3 separate regions of the Homo sapiens genome follow, and regions 1 and 2 are each linked to region 3. Evidence: promoter capture Hi-C in 16 types of primary human blood cells and fetal thymus (Javierre and others, 2016). All regions are on one chromosome and are shown on one strand. The core of a region is centred on a gene start or on the middle of the fragment in contact, and the rest is flanking DNA. Distances in the headings are between cores, read along the strand shown.

Evidence for each region. Contacts are between HindIII fragments. The CHiCAGO score rates a contact against its expected background, and 5 or more counts as called.
Region 1: a fragment that was not itself captured here is called in contact with the fragment with the promoter of NDUFAF4 in region 3 in 4 of 17 cell types (total B cells, naive B cells, naive CD4 T cells and 1 more); the score reaches 10.4 in total B cells.
Region 2: a contact is called between a fragment that was not itself captured here and the fragment with the promoter of NDUFAF4 in region 3, in 1 of 17 cell types (total B cells). The highest score is 5.6, in total B cells.

The regions. Positions count from the first base shown.
Region 1 is chr6:96,606,947-96,610,841 of GRCh38, forward strand. It overlaps FHL5 (four and a half LIM domains 5), which reads left to right. Exons shown (of 6, transcript NM_001322466.2): 5 at 3,626-3,812. Among named protein-coding and RNA genes, the nearest start is that of FHL5, 46 kb to the left of the region's middle. The HindIII fragment of the contact is 233 bases long and covers 1,592-1,824 here.
Region 2 is chr6:96,589,937-96,594,145 of GRCh38, forward strand. All of the region lies in intron 1 of FHL5 (four and a half LIM domains 5), which reads left to right. Among named protein-coding and RNA genes, the nearest start is that of FHL5, 29 kb to the left of the region's middle. The HindIII fragment of the contact is 2,432 bases long and covers 1,232-3,663 here.
Region 3 is chr6:96,895,662-96,899,708 of GRCh38, forward strand. It overlaps NDUFAF4 (NADH:ubiquinone oxidoreductase complex assembly factor 4), which reads right to left and starts at 2,230. Exons shown (of 3, transcript NM_014165.4): 1 at 2,005-2,230; 2 at 1,083-1,186. The coding sequence starts at 2,140. It also overlaps a transcript of KLHL32 not described here. RefSeq lists an enhancer at 2,053-2,152. The HindIII fragment of the contact is 8,617 bases long and covers 1-4,047 here.

The DNA.
Region 1 (3,895 bases), core at 458-2,957, 290 kb before region 3:
AAGACAGAAAGAAGACTAAGAGCAGCAAGTTCCTTCACTCCAGTTCCAGGATCATGTAGGGCCTTCTGACTTGGCTTCCCACTCAAAAAAAACATTTTCTAAGAGAAAAAAAAAGTAATATTTTTGAAGTAAACTTCATCCAATTCTTTTTTTATCCTCTAAGCTTTTATGTGAAAAAGTAGCTCTAACACCTTGATGAAGCCTGTCTGCATTCCATAAAATATATATGGAGGTTCTCAAAGAAATCCTTGACCTGCGAGGCATCATAAGTTTAAAATGACACCATAAATTGTCATGAGAAAGCTGAATCATGAAAATACATTGGATTAGTATAGTGGTTTCAAAGTATTTTTTATCTGTGGGTTACTTTGGCAGAACTCTTAAGCCCATTTGTATATCTGGACAGCTGGAAGTCACACTACCACTTTCTATGCACACATATGTGAACACACATGCACATACACACACACACACACACACGCAGTTAACTGTTTAACATACATAACCAATACCACTACTGCATTTAAAGAGGCAGCAATACACTATGCTAAGTTATCATTATTAAATTACACTATGTTGATGGCTGAGAATTACAATTGATCACATGACATAAAATAATCTTATGACTGAGACCTTCATTACTCTACCAAAACACTGGCTTAGAAGGTGACTTTACAAGCAGCAATCAAGCCATATGACATATGAAGCTCCAAAGAATTACCAGGGTCAATGACGGCATTTAAAAACATGCTGGAGCTGGGCATGGTGGCTCACGTCTGTAATCCCAACACTTTGGAAAGCCAAGGTGGGAAGATTGCCTGAGGCCAGGAGTTCAAGACCAGCCTGGGCAACATAGTGACACCCTGTCTGTATAAAAAAAAAAAAAAGTTTAAAAATTAGCCAAGTATGGTGACACGTGCCTGTAGTCCCAGCTACTTGGGTGGCTGAGGCAGGAGGATCACTTGGGCCCAGAAATTCAAGGCTGCAGTGAGCTATGATTGAGCCACTGTACTCCAGCCTGGGTGACAATGAGATCCTATCTCTAAAAAATATACAAAACTTAAAAACTAAAGAAAATAAAATCTTGCTGGAAATAAAATGAATAGGTTTATCTCACTGTTTTGAGAGACAACTGAGTTGGCCAATTTTAGGCTGCATTTCTTAAAGACAGACTAAAACAGTAATGATATTTGTGAGAATTATCCTAAAATCATTTATCAGACACAATAATGAAGACTCTTTCAATGCTATAACAATTCAAGAGTGAAACTTCTTTAGTACATCCATGCTGAGCACTGTCTGGGCCAAGTGCTGATGTTTCCCAGGTTATTGGAGCCTGTAACTATATTTAGGATATGATTTGAAGTCATCAAAAATTTACAAAATATTTATATTGGGTAGTAGACAGATTATGACATGCCAGATTATTTTTTATTTAGTTTTTAAAACCACAAGTCCTTTTCTAAAAAGCTAGATTTGTTTTTGATCAAGATGATCCAATCTAAACAATTTTTTTCAACCCAAACCAAAGACCAAATATTTTCTTAAAAAAAGGAAAAACTACTTGACAACCAGGCTGTTAGAACTTTTAAGCTTTAAAATCCATAGATTTTATTTTGTTAAACTAAGATTTATTTTCTGCCAGAAAGCAAATGATTTTAAACTACAAGTGCTTCAAATTCAAACTCCTCAAGGTTCAAAAGGAGTTAAACGTCTTCTTCGATTTTTCATCTGTCACATAATGAGTGCAAAATCATTATTGCCCCCACTTTTTCACAGAACAAACTTGTTCTAAATCCTGAGATCAATCAGTGGTGAAAACCAAGCTTAGATATTAGACTTTATCTTACCTTCCTACCTCTTCAAAAGGAATATAATCACAAGCAAACTATTTTTGATGTTCCAGAATTTCTTCTCTCTAATTAAACAGTCTTTGGTGTATATATCAAGTTTTATTTTGCTGTGAATACATTTTTCAAGTTTCAGATCTTTTAAGCATTGCCTGCTAATCATCAGACCAAACAAATCAAAGGAATCATGAATTCTGCTGTGTCTGCTGTAAGGCATTGGAAGTCAGTAGGAGGTATTTTAAATTGCTTTACTTCCATCACAACATTATGCTTCCCATTTACTTATTCAGAATAGTATGCTTTTTTCCCTCTAGGAAAATATCTTTCATATCAAATATCTTTAATTTCTAAGATATTTGTTATAAGATTAAAAATACCTTTAGAATAATTTTTTCACAAGTCTATGTAACAGACAAATAACATTTTTGAGTTCGTAAACAACGAGGCGGCTTAAAATAGGCTCTAAGTTTTTACTACCTAGTTAATTTGATACAAAGGTTATAGGAACCACCTCAGATACCCCATTGCTTCAGTCATTATAAAACACTTACAAAAACACATTCCAGTATCTACAGCAATTCTAAGAGCTCATTAGCTGTGAATTCAAAAGGTGATGTGGCTTAAAAATAGTTACATGAGAAAAAATGCCCAAGATTTATCCATCTGATTCTAACTAAAGATTTCTCAGCCTTTTAAAAAGTAGAATTCATGGATTAAATTGGTTTAGAAAGAAAATATTATCTTATGCAGAACTAATTACATCTCAGGCAAAACACTGCACATCACACCTTAAGGCTCAATGTACAACCAGGGCTTATTCCATTGAGTTCTAATTCCCACAGCACCCCACTGCTAGATACAATATTGGAATTGCTTTCCAACTATTTTTTCCTTTGGCATTTATTCATTCATTCAACAAGGATTTTCAACTGCTTATCTGTGTAAGGTAACCTTGACTCAGTATGGCACTGATGGTGATGCACACAGGCTGTGGAATCAGACCATGCAGGTTTGAATCCTAGCTCACTATGGCCATGGCAAGTAACTTAATGACTGTAACCCTCACTAGTTGCTCATCTGAAAAGAGGGAAAGATAATAGTCTGTAGTATGTAGAGGTGTTGAGAATATTCAGAAGAGATCATCCTTAGCACGGTGGTAAGGACTGAAAAAACACTTAAGAAATGGTAGTTGTTATTAGCAAATAATGGTGCTTACCAATTCCATTCAGAATTACTGCTGTTGGATATTCTTGGACCTGGTGTAAAGCATTCAGGAAAAAGAAGAATTCTTTTAAGCATCCCTAAAGTTAGACAGGTAGTTATAAGAACATAGTATAGAAAATAGCTCTAACGGCAGATCTTTAAAAACCAAAATTAAGAAAATTCAGAGAAGTATGAGGAAGTGAAAAAAGAACCTGTGTGGTTTTTCTCCCCCATCTTCCTGAGTCCAATATGGCCCTGCCTCTGTTCTATTTCATTGTAGGAGAAAAATATACAATAATTTCCATTTCTTTCTACTTCTAATTAATTCCTATAGCCTTTGGCTTCTCATATTATTAATTTTTAATGACTTTTTGAGGAAAAGAACATCCTAACATAAGGTGAAAATAGAGTAGCCAAAAGCACCAGTTGTGGCATAGAAGACATGAAATGATCTTTTTTTTTTCTTTTTGCTTCCTTTTCTCCCCAGAGATACTAGGATCTCAAAAGAATCATGAAATGATCTGAATTGTAATGGCTCCCATGGTCATTGCCTTTTCTGTGGTCTTTGGCAGGTGATAACTTCAGGTGGGATAACATTTTGTGACCAGCTATGGCATAAAGAGTGTTTTCTGTGTAGTGGCTGTAGGAAAGATCTCTGTGAAGAACAGTTCATGTCCAGAGACGACTATCCATTCTGCGTGGACTGCTACAACCATCTTTATGCCAACAAGTGTGTAGCCTGTTCCAAACCCATTAGTGGTGAGTTCTTCAGTTCAATATGATCATGCCATGAGACAGTTATGACTTTATGAAACACTATCTAGTTAATTTAGGAAAAGCAA
Region 2 (4,209 bases), core at 1,198-3,697, 310 kb before region 3:
CTTCGTTATTCCTCACTGTCCTTTAGGTCATGTGTTATATATGTATAGACTTGCTTTTGAGCTCTCTATTCTGTTCTGGTGATCTAAGTATTTAATCCTGTGTTTATACCATACCATCCACTATAGTAGCTTTATAATGTCTTGATATCTGACTTAGCAAGTCTTCCAATCTTGTTCTTGTTCAAAGGTGATTACACTATTCCTGGCCCTCTGCATTTCTTTATAAGTTATGGAATTAGCTTGTAAAAAAATAACCTGATGGAATTTTATTTTGCATCTATAGGGCAAATGAAGGGGAAATAATACCTTCACAATAGTAAGTCTTCAAGTCTAAGAGCATGGTATTTTCCTTCCATGTATTTATTTTGGTTTTCTGTTTATTCTTTCAAAGTCTTATAATTTTCTATGTAGAGAGCTCATACATTCTTATTAGGTTTCTCAGGGAATTTAAATATCATAAATGATTTTTTTTCATTTCACTGTTTGTTATTGTTAAATAGGAATACAATTGATTTTTATATATAGACATTTTACTGAGCAACTCTAATAACTAACTTGTAAATTCTAATCAGGTATTATAGAATTTTTTTGATTTTCTCCACAATTAGAACATCAGCAAATAATGAGTTTGTTTCCTTTTAACTCTTGTACTTTTTTCCCTCACCTTACTGCAAAATCTATGGCTTCCAGTATAAAGCTGAATAGAAGTGGTGATTGTGGGTATTCTTTTCCTATTTATAATCCGAGTAAAAGCTATCAACATTTACCATTAAGTATAGTGTTCGCTATAGGTTTTTTTAAACCACATTGAAGAAGTTTCTTTCATTTTTAGTTTGTTAAGAGTTTTTAATCATAAATTGAAGTAAGATTTTATCAAATGCCTTTTCTGCAGCTGCTGAGGTAATTTTACAGCTTTCACTTTTACTTGGTAAAATTATTGAAACACAGTGATTCTCTTGAATTTTAAACTGAACTTGGCATTCCTAAAATGAAATCAACTTGATCATGATATACTAATCTCTTCATATATCACTGGATTTAGTTGCTTGTTATTTGGGTTTGGGTTTTGTATTTATTGTCAGAAGTATTATGGACCTATAGTTTTCCTTTCTCATAATGATTTTAGATTTTGATACCAAAGTGTTAATGAGTTCAAAATTTACCAGAGCATGTTCTCTGTTTGTACTTACTTGATTTGGTTTGTGTGAGATTGCTGTTATTTCTTCTTTAAAGCTTGGCAAAATTCACTGGTAAAGCCACTTTGGCTTTATTTCCCTCTGTATGTAGCCTTTTTAATTACAAATTCAACTTATCTAATAGTTGTCATAATTTTTTATTTCTTCTTGTGTCAATTTTAATAGTTTTATTTATTTTAGATTTTTCCATTTTACCTAAATTTTCTAATTCTTTGACACAGGGTTGTTGTACATAGTCAGATTTACATAGATTCATCTACATGTTTACGGTTTTCATTTTTTCCCTACTCTTTTCCGCACCTGTGATCTCCAATGTGTACTTTTGCCCAAAGAACACTGTTTGGTATTATTTTAACGTGGGTGGATGATTAATAAATTTAGTTTCTGATGGCCTGAAAATGCTTTTACCTTCATTGTCAAAAGATCTTTTACCTGGGCATAGACTTCTAGGTTGGCTGCTAATTTTTTTCAGCAATTTGAATATATCTCTCCATTGTCTAGCTTCCTTTTTTTTCTGTTGAGAAGTAGGTATCCTCAATTTGTTATTAATCTGAAAGTAATATTTTATTATCAGGGGAAATTCAGCCAGATATCGGGGGGAAATTCACCCCCGATATTTCATGTAGGTGCTTTTCTATTTTCCCTAAGTGTCAGCCAGTTTGAGAAATAAAGGGACAGAGAACAAAAGAGAGAAATTTTAAAGCTGGGCATCTGGGGGACACATCACATGTCGATAGGTTCCGTGATGTCCCCTGAGCTGTAAAACCAGCAAGTTTTTATTAGGGATTTTCAATGGGGAGGGAGTGTACGAATAGGGTGTGGGTCACAGAGATCAGGTACTTCACAAGATAATAGAATATCACAAGGCAAATGGAGGCAGGGCGAGATCACAGGACCATAGGACCGGGGCAAAATTAAAATTGCTAATGAAGTTTCGGGCACCACTGTCATTGATAACATCTTATCAGGAGACAGGGTTTGAGAGCAACCTGTCTGACCAAAATTTATTAGGTGGGAATTTTCTCGTCCTAATAAGCCTGGGAGCACTATGGGAGACTGGGGCTTATTTCATCCCTACAGTCTTGACCATAGAAGATGGCCACACCCAAGGGGGCCATTGTAGAGGCCCACCCTCAGGGGCACATTCTCTTTCTCAGGGATGTTCCTTGCTGAGAAAAAGAATTCAGTGATACTTCTCCCATTTGCTTTTGAAAGAAGAGAAATACGGCTCTGTTCCGCCCAGCTCACTGGCGGTCAGAGTTTAAGGTTATCTCTCTTATTCCCTTGAACATTGCTGTTATCCTGTTCTTATTTCAAGGTGCCCAGATTTCATATTGTTCAAACACACATGCTCTACAATTTGTGCAGTTAATGCAATCATCACAGGGTCCTGAGGCAACATACATCCTCCTCAGCTTACGAGATGACAGGATTAAGAGATTAAAGTGAAAACAGGCATAGGAAATCACAGGGGTATTGACTGGGGAAGTGGTAAGTGTCCAAGAAATCTTCACAATTTATGTTTAGAGATTGCAGTAAAGACAGGCATAAGAAATTATAAAAGTATTAATTTGGGGATCTAATAAATGTCCATGAAATCTTCACAATTTATGTTCTTCCACCATGGCTTCAGCCAGTCCCTCCGTTCAGGGTCCCTGACTTCCCGCAACATTTTATAATCTACTTTTGATATGTTATTTGTCTTTCGTTTTTAGTAGTTGTACCCTGATGTGTCCAAGTGTGTTTTTCAGGTCAGTTGAGGTTCATGTTTTCTTGGTTTTTAAAATTTGGGGCATGTATTTTGTCAGTTTTGGAAGATGGGCCATTGTTTCTTCAAATACAACTTGTATATTTTTCTCTTTTCTCATTCTCATTCTATCATCTATGTTTCTTACTTTCTTAATTGTACTTTTTATACCTTTTATCATCATGCTTAATTTTATTTTCTATTTTATCATCTTTTTCATTTCATACAATCTTTTCTAAAATTTCCCATTATGTCCCTAATTTAAATCATTGTATATTTCTGTACTATAATTTACATTTCATTCTTTTTCATTGTTTTTAATTCTCTGCAAAATTTTTGCTCCTTATTTTATTTACCCCCTTGAACATATTAAGGATAGTTTTATGTTCTGTCTTATAACTCCAAAATCTATGGCTTCCTGCATGTATGTTTCTATTCTTTATATTCCCTTGTCTTCTTCTGAACATGGTCATTTTTGTTTAGTGCTAGACATTGGTGTAGAAGTAATTGAGGCCTAAGATGATGTTTTCTTCCTTCAGACAGGATGTGTATTTATTCTGGTGTTCACCTAGGGATACCAGAATTCCAAGGTTATCTTAATATAATTTTAGAAACTGAGGTAATTCAAAGCTGGGCTTCCATCTCTGAAATACTAGTTTACTTCTAATTTACGTTACTCCAAGGGCATAGCTCTTTGGAAATATCACCTACACAATGATAAGCTTACCAGGCCTGCTACATGGAAGGTCCATTGACCTCAATCTTTGTCCCCTTAGCCTTTCTAGGCTGTCAGAAGTGCCATACAGCTTCTCAGACTATTCATTTTATCTTTTTGGATGTACATATTCTTCTGTGGAAAGCAAATACCAAGCTCATCTACGCTTTTCTCCTTCCTTTGGACTTTGCCTATTCTTCACTGTAATATTAATTCTCTGATGCCTCCAAGCTACACTTTTTAAGTACACTTTTTAAGTACTAGCTTCTCTAGTGGTTCACAGCAGCCTCATGGTTTGAATTATACAGAGTACCATTATTGGACTGGAAGTCTTTCAACAATTTTATTTTGGGGAAAAATTATTTCTATTATCTTCATTTAGTGAATTTTCTCTTTATGCATTAGTTTGTTTCATTTCAAGGTTGCTGATTTTTACTTTTGCTTTTTTCAGTCTGCTGATAATCTTATCCATTGAATTCTCTATTACAAATATTTTTAAACATAAGCCCCCACAGGGACTTTATTATACTTATGTTAAATATTTGGAAGGA
Region 3 (4,047 bases), core at 980-3,479:
TTACTCAACACCTATTTTAAAATGACGTAAGAACACAGACATTAACCCTATACTTTTTTCATGTGAGCATGTGGTGATAACTGAACCCTACAATTACTATGTGCAGCGATTAACAAATCTTGTTTTATTTCTCCTCTGTAGTGAAAATTATATTAATAATTCTATCTGTGCAAATATCCAGAGAGAGAGGGACAGTACCAGAATATTTTAGAATGAAAAAAAAAATCTGGAAGTTGTTGGCACTTCCTTGGCCTTTAATCAAACTTTACCCCTAACTAGAATCTTCCTGCCCCCAAAAACTCATCTGGTTAACTCCAACTGATCCCTCCTCAGGCCTGAACATAACTATCACTTCCTCAGAAACCATCCTTGATCCTCCCATTTCAAAGAGGTCCCTCCAATATACTCAGCAGTGCACGTACTTTTCCCATAATTATGGTCACATTGTTGCTCATTTGTTTAATGGCTGTGTCCTTCACAACATCATAGGCCCTGTGAAAATAAGGACTAGTTTTGTTCATCACTATATACAAAGCACTTGTGCCCAGGACTTACATAATACAGAATATGGATTTACACATAGGTTCCCATTCCTAATGTATTCTTTGATCCTTCTAATTTTAAATATCCTATCTGAATACATCCTTAAAAAAACAAACAGGAACACCCCACAAAATCCAACAACACCACTTACTAAAGGAGTCTCTGAGATTAGAACATACCTCAATCCACAGAAGAATGAGAAAATAATATTAAAGCTCTGCTTTTGTCACTCAAATGACAACCACTGGAAGTAATGCCTTACCAAATCCTACAAATTCTGAAATACTATGAAATAATTCACACAGTTGCTTGTATCAATACTTCCACAAGTTATTTTAGAATTCTGGTAAATATCCAGTGAACCAAGGCATAAGTGTCTTGCTGTCTTACACCAGTGTGCTTAAACTTTGCCAAGGCGTGTAGATTGATCACAACACACACTTGCAGAGCACTCTTTTTACTACTTGCCACACTTAATCATTTTCCTGAAGCCCCAAAATAAGTAAATTGTGTATTCACTTAATTAAACACACATTTACCTGCAAGGAAGACACAGGATCTTTGGAATCAACATACACATCTTTTAGAAACGACAGCAGCTTTTCATCTTTACGAGCAATCTCTCCTTTAACTTCTGGATAGACTAAGGAAAGGAAAAAAGTCACAATATTAAAATCAAGGAAAATTTCCTGTAATATCCTAAACGCTTAACACAAACGCTTTCTTTTATTTTCTTTTTTGAGTCGGAGTCTCGCTCTGTTGCCCAGACTGGAGTGCAGTCGCGCGATCTCGGCTCCCTGCAACCTCCGCCTCCCGGGTTCGAGAGATTCTCCCACCTCAGCCTCCCGACAAGCTGAGGCTACAGGCGCGCCACCACGCCCGGCTAATTTTTGCATTGTTTGTAGAGACGGGGTTTAGCCATGTTGGCCAGGCTGGTCTCGAACTCCTGACCTCAGGTGATCTGCCCGCCTCGGCCTCCCAAAGTGCTGAGATTACAGGCTTGAGCTACCGCGCCCGGCCTAACCACTTTAATTTTTTTAAAAAATAAACATAATCATTTGGACTGTTAGGAAAATACTTTAGATGGAAATCAAAATTCCAGGTCAGGCTCTGCGTCCATCGTCCAGTGAAGACCCCTAGAGAAAGCTCTGTGACCCTCTCGGATTTTGATTCCCTGTATCAAGTCCGTGACAGCAGCCGGCGAGGGCCTGGTTAGCGGGAGCACTGGCTGCTGCCTCTGGGTCTCGGAAGTAGGCGGGGCCGCCGACCTCACCGCGGGCGCGGAGGACAGTCTCAATGTCACCGGCCTGGCGGCTCCCCCTTCCAACGCTCCGCCAACCCGAGCGGCTGCGGCCGAGCAGGCTGACGCCGATCCCTCGGCCTCCGGACCCACGCTAGGGACAGCCGGGCAGCACAGGGACTCCGCGCCCCCGGGCCCCGAAACGCCCTCGCACCACTCACGACTAATCTGCTCTCGCAGGAGGCTGTTGGTAGAGGGGTGTCTGGGAGCGACAGAGGGCTTCATCTTGCTGATTTCCCGTTCCGCTCGGTTCTCTAGGTTGAAATTCCTGATACCGCGAATCACTAGTGCTCCCATCTCCTCATAACATTATGCGCTCAGGTTCAGGCCGCACGTGGGAACACCGGCGCAGGACAACTCCGGGACACCCGGAGCATGCGCACAAGTGAGGGGAAGCCCCGCCGCGGGCGCTTAAATGCGTGCCCGTCGCCCCCTAGCGCTCGGGAGGCCACACACCGCTTCTCTGCCCAGGGCATTTAAAAGGGAGCCCCTCCCTTCGGGGCGAGTGACGGCTCCCACGAGGGCCGCTTCCGGCGGGAGGTGGCGGGGCTTAAGTCCCCAGACCCACGGTTGCTTTTAACGCTGGAACTCCGAGGGAGTCACCCGGGAAGCTCTGTAAAGTTCTGTGCCGGGCCCTACCCCAGACTTTCTGATTTAATTCTTGTGGAGTGAGGCCCAGCATTGGATAAGACTCCACGTGATTCCAAAGTTTCAGTGAAGAGCTGAAAATCAAAGTCGTAAGGAAGTTGACCTTGAAGTTGTTTCACAGGGCAATGCCACCAAAGAGTTAGCCGATAAAAATGGAACTTACTGAACCAGGGTCAAACTGGGCTCTCAAGTTGCCCTTTCCTGCTTTTGTGAAAGGAAAATAATGAAAGGATGTTCCCTTTCGATGAGTATTTGTTCTCAGCCGCTCTCATTTAAATGCCTCTTATTTTCCTGTCCCCCCGCCTGATGCATTTTCAAGCCACTGTATTCTTTTTCCATTATTTTTTACATCCCGTTCTCATTTGACCTAATGGTATCGATTTTAGTTATACTTTCCCTTATCTTATTTTTGCTACTAATTTACTTCTCCATGCTACTAAATGCTGAGTCATTCCCTCTCCTATTTCTCTTCTCTCTTGCCTTCTTCATTCTTTTTAAGCCTCTGTGTAATTTAATGAAAGGAACAGACAATAAGACGTCAGAAAAAAAAAACAAACAAACAAAAAAACGAGTGTTACATTCACCTTCTCCGTCTCTCTCCATTTCCTGAATGGGTTACTGTAGTGCTGCTTTTATTTAAGACCCTTTAGAAATATTGTTATTAATCTAAAATAAAACCCACCAGGAAGGAAGCAGTAGGAAGGAAGTTACAGTATTTCTCTTACTGTGGCTGCAAAATCTATTTTTAGTGTTCTGATCTCTGCTTAGCAAAATGAAGTAGAGTGGATGTTTTTAACCAGCTTAAAGTAAGAAAATATTGATGTAAAGATAATCGAATAGAATAATAATAATAAAACAAGAATCAAAGAACCAAAATGAAGAAAGGGAAAGTTTTTTAAAAAGAAAACTAATGTAATCATTAAGTATAATGCTTAATCAGAGCAAAAGCACTGCAAGGAAGACGGCTTCAGCCACTCTAATTTAAATGCCCTTTATTTAATTATACTGAACATTTTTACAGGGATTGGTATTTGGAATTTATAGAAGCTGAAATCAGTGATCTCAGATAGCATTAACTGGGAAGTTATCCTGAAGGTGGCAGGCTGCTCCAAGATTTCTATCTTTGATACTTTTAAGCATGCTTGTGATTCAGGGCTTTTTAGGCACGGTATTTCTATTTCTATGGGTGCTAAGAAATTTTAATCTGCCTCATTATGTCTATGTGCTTTAATCATGGTAGCAATTCGACTCACTGCCTGTTAAAATATTTTAAAAGTGAAAATCTCATTTTCATAGAAATTCCACCGAACTTCGGGCAGTATGAAAAAGTAATGTTAGAAGTGACTGTCAGGACAGTAGGGATTACAATATGAAATAATTATTTGAATTCACACATTCCAATAGAGCTTGGATTCAACATTGAAAGAGCTTCCAGCATGTGTCAGCTGCTTTGCCTGATCCTGGCCCAGTGCTGCTCAGGCCCTCAAATTGCAAAACAGAAGGCAGATGCACTCCATCAGAAACTCACAATTGGCTGTCACCCTTTGGGAATCATG